Regions from separate parts of the Homo sapiens genome. Here region 1 is linked to region 2. Evidence: promoter capture Hi-C in 16 types of primary human blood cells and fetal thymus (Javierre and others, 2016). All regions are on one chromosome and are shown on one strand. Each heading gives the region's core, a stretch centred on a gene start or on the middle of the fragment in contact. The rest is flanking DNA. Distances are from core to core; before and after follow the strand shown. Region 1 has its middle 3.6 kb from the start of FCAR. Region 2 holds the start of GP6 (glycoprotein VI platelet).

Region 1 (2,700 bases), core at 26-2,525, 170 kb after region 2:
AGATACTTACTAATTGTTGAATTTCAGGAACTTCAGTGGCCAATATTTACTAATGGGCTGGAACAGATTTTGTCAACTTACCACAACATTTGGTGTGGTTTTGTTCTTTTGTTTCCTCCTTTTGTGGAACAGGAATGGTAACGTAGCCATGGGGTGCTGAGATATTTGGTTAAACATTATTCTGTGTGTGTCTGTGGGGGTGTTGCTGAATGAGATTATCAATGGAATTAGTGTAATTTATAAAGCAGATTGCTCTCCCTAATGTGAGTCGGCCTCATTCAATCAGGTGGGACCTGAATAGAACAAAACATTGAACTGGTAATGTAAGATGAAGTTCCTTTTGCCTGGACATCAGTCTTTTCTGGCTCTTGAACTCTCACTAAAACATTGACTCTTTAGATGTTAAGCCTGCCAGCTTTTTTTGTTTGTTTGTTTTTTTGAGATAGAGTCTCACTCTGTCACCCAGGCTGGAGTGCTGTGGCATGATCTCGGCTCACTGCAACCTTCACCTCTTGGGTTCAAGCAATTCTCGTACCTCAGCCTCTGAGTAGCTGGGATTACAAGCGAATGCCACTATGCCCGGCTAATTTTTGTATTTTTAGTAAAGATGGGGTTTCACCATGTTGGCCGGGCTGGTCTTGAACTCTGACCTCAGGTGATCTGCCTGCCTTGGTCTCCCAAAGTGTTGGGATTACAGGCGTGAGCCATCATGCCCGGCATGAGCCTGCTAGCTTTTGGACTGTTACGTATACCACTAACTCTACTGGTTCTCAGACTTTTGCACGTAGACTGGAACTACACGTGGACTCCCCTGGGTCTCCAGCTTGCAGATGGCAGATCATGGGACCTGTCAGTCTACATAGTTGCATAAGCCAATATATAAATACCCTATCTGTGTATCAATCATTATATATCTGTCATTATCCAACTATATGTCTATCATTATTTGTGATATCATTATATATCTATCATTATTTGTCTATCAATCATTATCTATATATCTATCATTATTAGTGTTGATTATTTTTTTTTCTGGAGAACCCTGACTACTATAGCTTCCATGTTCCTGTCTCAACTGTCACCAGTCCCCTTAGCACAGGGCCTATCATAGCCATTCTACGGCCCAAGGAATTACAAGCCACATAACTACAGGAGTCACAGTGACCCAAGGATTTAGACGGAGACACGGAAGAATTGAGGCATCTATTGGTCTCTGCATATTTTGGGATTTGGGATTTCCCAGCAGGGAAATTTGCCTTGAATCTGTCTAACTGGTCACTAAGAGTTGATTGGTAGGTTCCATTCTCCGTGCACAGCATAAACCCTAATAAGCCCAAACTGACTGGCAGTGGAGACTCTCAACCCTCAATGGGACCAAACTGTGACTGGCAGTGGAGACTCTCAACCCTCAATGGGACCAAACTGTGACTGGCAGTGGGGACCTTCAACCCTCAGTGGGACCGAACTGTGACTGGCAGTGGGGACCTTCAACTCTCAGTGGGACTTTACAGCACTCAGCTGCACCTGTGTGGAGAATTTGTCTCAAACACCTAAGAAGGAAGGAGGCCTTTGTTTCGAGGAAGAAGAAGGGGAGCTGCTTCTCTATCCACTGACCTCAGAGGTACCGGAGAGTGTCCAGTGAGGGCCTTAACTCTCTGCAGTATTTTTTTTTTTTTTGAGATGGAGTCTCACCCTGTCGCCCAGGCTGGAGTGCAATGGCAGGATCTCGGCTCACTGCAACCTCTGCCTCCCCAGTTCAAACGATTCTCCTGTCTCAGCCTCCTGAGTATCTCAGATTTACAGGCACCTGCCACCATGCCCAGCTATTTTTTGTATTTTTAGTAGAGACAGAGTTTCACCATGTTGGCCAGGCTGATCTCGAACTCCTGACCTCGTGATCTGCCCACCTCCGCCTCCCAAAGTGCTGGGATTATAGGCGTGAGCCACTGCACCCAGCCACTCTCTGCAGTTTTAAAGGCCATTTCCATGAATTAGAGTATACTTAGGCACTGAGGTAAGCATGGCACAGCTTTCTGAAAATAAAGTTGAAACTTAGAGGTTTCTTTTAGCTTTATTGAGATATGATTGACAAATGGAAATTGTATATATTTAAGGTGTATTACACTTGATGTTTTGATGTATGTATACATGGTGACATGATCATCATAGTCAAGCTAGTTATATCCATCATCTCGCAGGGTTATTGTTTTTTTTTTTTTTTTTTTTTTGAGAGGAAGTCTTACTCTGTCCCCCAGGCTAGAGTGCAGTGGTGCCATCTTGGCTCACTGCAACCTCCGCTCCCAGGTTCCAGCAATTCTCGTGCCTCAGCCTCCTGAGTAGCTGGGATTACAGGCTTGTGTCACCACGCCTGGCTAATGTTTGCATTTTTAGTAGAGACAGGGTTTCACCATGTTGGCCATGCTGGTCTTGAACTCCTGACCTCAAGTGATCTGCCCGTCTTGGCCTCCCAAAGTGCTGGGATTACAGGCGTGAGCCACCGCGCCCGGCCTATGGTTTCTTTTTCTTTCTTTCTTTTTTTTTTTTTTGTGGTGAGGACCCTTAAGATCTACTCTCCCAGCCGGGCGTGGTGGCTCATGCCTGTAATCCCAGTACTTTGGGAGGCCGAGGCAGGCGGATCACGAGGTCAGGAGATCGAGACCATCCTGGCTAACACAGTGAAACCCCGTCTCTACTAAAAAT
Region 2 (2,700 bases), core at 47-2,546:
TTATTTTTATTTTTGAGACAGTCTCACTCTGCCGCCCAGGCTGGAGTGCAGTGGTGCGATCTCGGCTTACCGCAATCTCTGCCTCCCAGGTTCAAGCGATTCTCATGCCTCCGTCTCCCAAGTAGCTGGGATTACAGGCACCTGCCACCATGCCCGGCTAATTTAACGCCCAGCTAATTTTTGTATTTTTAGTAGAGATGGGGTTTCACCATGTTAACCAGGCTGGTCTCGGACTCCTGACCTCAGGTGATCCGCCCGCCTCGGCCTCCCAAAGTGCTGGGATTACAGGCGTGAGCCACTGTGCCTGGCTGATTTTTATTCTTTTAGTTAAGGCTGGTTGATATTACCTTGTGTGTATATACCACATGTTGTTTATCCATTGTTGTTGATGGACATGTGGGTGGTTTCACCTTTTGGCTATTGTGAATAAAGCTGCTATGAACACTGTGTACAAATATGTTAGAGACCCTGTTTTCAGTTCTTTTAGGTGTGTACCCCGAAGTGGAATTGCTGGATTTTATGGCAATCCCACGTTTAACTTCTGGAGGAGCTGCTGGAACTGTTTTCCACAGCAGGGGCGCCATGTTACGTCCCTGCCAGCAATGCACGCGCAGTTCAATTTCTCTGCATACTCACCAATATCTGCTGTTTTCCATTAAAAAAAATTATAGCCGGTCGGGTGCAGTGGCTCATGCCTGTAATCCCAGCACTTTGGGAGACCGAGGCAGGTGGATCAACTGAGGTCAGGAGTTCAAGACCAGCCTGGCCAACACAGTGAAACCCCATCTCTACTAAAAATACAAAAATTAGCCTGGTGTGGTACATACCTATAATCCCAGCCACTTGGGAGGCTGAGGCAGGAGAATCGCTTGAACCTGGGAGGTGGAGGTTGTAGTGGGCCGAGATGGCGCCACTGCACTCCAACCTGGGCAAAAAGAACGAGACTTTGTCTCAAAAGAAAAAAAAAAAATACAGCCATTCCAGAAGGTGTGAAGTCATATCTCACTGTGGTTTTGATGCGTATTTTCCTAGTGACATCAGGGAGTTTATGGGAGCACGGGAACACAGACCAGGCCCCAGCAGGCGGACAAACGGTGCAACGCCAGGCTGGCCAGAGGAGATAAGCGCGGCTCCTTGGAGCTTGTGTGCAAGTCACTGTACTGAGGAGCCGGCTACGGCTCGATGAGTCTCAATTAGGAAAGGCCGGGGCTGGTGGAGGAAGGGAGGAGAGCATTCTTCATCCTCATCACATCCTGAGCCTGTGCCCCAGGCTCCCACCACTTCCCTCCCTGGCCACAGAGCTCAGGACAGGGCTGAGGAACCATGTCTCCATCCCCGACCGCCCTCTTCTGTCTTGGTGAGTCCTGAGGGTCAGATCTGGGAAATGCTGAAGGACAGGCATGGACTGCCAGACAAAGGATTTTTAAGAAATTTGCATTGGTGATGAATTTCAGGACAAAAAGGAACCTGTAAGAGCCCCTTCATTTGTTGGGTGGGGAAACGGGGGGCCAGCGAGCTGGCATTTTGCATGAGTTATTCCAGTGTATTCATGGCTGGGTCAGGAAATGAACAGAGTATCCTAGCATTGGTCACAACTTTGTTCTACTACACTGCAGTTGCCCCTTTTTTAAAAAATGTGGGCCAGGCACAGTGGCTCACGCCTGTAATCTCAACCTTGGGAGGCCGAGGTGGGTGGATCACCTGAGGTCAGGAGTTCAAGACCAGCCTGGTCAACATGGTGAAACCCCATCTCTACAAAAATTAGCCGGGCGTGATGGCGGGTGCTTGTAATCCCAGCTACGTGGGAGGCTGAGGTGGGAGAATTGCTTGAAACTGGGAGGCAGAAGTTGCAGTGAGCTGAGGTCAGGCATTGCACTCCAGCCTGGGCAACAGAGAGAGCCTCCATCTCAAAAAAAAAAAAAAAAAAAAAAAAAAAGGCTGAGTGCCATGGCTTACACACTTTGGGAGGCCGAGGCGGGTGGGCCATCTGAGGTCGGGAGTTTGAGACCAGCCTGACCAACATGGAGAAACCCCATCTCTACTAAAAATACAAAATTAGCCGGGTGTGGTGGCACATGCCTGTAATCCCAGCTACTCTGGAGGCTAAGGCAGGAGAATCGCTTGAACCTGGGAGGTGGAGGTTGCGGTGAGCCAAGATCACACCATTGCACTCTGGCCTGGGCAACAAGAGCGAAACTCCGTCTCAAAAAAAAAAAAAAAAAAATTGTGGAATTGATATCTGGACTAGGTATGGATTTAATTTGTCAGTATCCCCTACAGTAGTGGAGTAAATAGTCTCCTGATGGATGGGTGGCAGGTCGAATGCATTTCTGCTGCCTGATCTTCACTTGTGCTGGGCATGTCGAATGCATTATTTCCTGATTTCTTCAGAATTTGACCACTAAAGGGACAGCATCTCCAAAAGGCTAAGCAGGAAGAAGATGGTTGCATTACTGGAGATGAGAGGGTTAACTGTGAATATAAACAACCTCTCATTCATTATCCATCCATGGATGTATTCTTTTTTTCTTTTTGTTTGTTTTTTGAGATGGAGTCTCGCTCAGTCGGTCGCTCAGGCTGGAATGCAATGGCATGATCTCAGCTCACTGCAAACTCTGCCTCCCGGGTCCAAGTGATTCTCCTGCCTCAGCCTCCCGAATAGTTGGGATTACAGGCATCTGCCACCAGGTCTGGCTAATT

Evidence for each region. The method cuts DNA at HindIII sites, captures the fragments that hold promoters and counts their contacts. A CHiCAGO score of 5 or more calls a contact.
Region 1: a fragment that was not itself captured here is called in contact with the fragment with the promoter of GP6 in region 2 in 1 of 17 cell types (M2 macrophages); the score reaches 5.4 in M2 macrophages.

The regions. Positions count from the first base shown.
Region 1 is chr19:54,869,240-54,871,939 of GRCh38, reverse strand. No RefSeq gene overlaps it. Among named protein-coding and RNA genes, the nearest start is that of FCAR, 3.6 kb to the left of the region's middle. The HindIII fragment of the contact is 5,393 bases long and covers 1-2,700 here.
Region 2 is chr19:55,036,860-55,039,559 of GRCh38, reverse strand. It overlaps GP6 (glycoprotein VI platelet), which reads left to right and starts at 1,296. Exons shown (of 8, transcript NM_016363.5): 1 at 1,296-1,357. The coding sequence starts at 1,324. The region is part of intron 2 of GP6-AS1 (GP6 antisense RNA 1); the gene reads right to left. It also overlaps a transcript of RDH13 not described here. The HindIII fragment of the contact is 26,016 bases long and covers 1-2,700 here.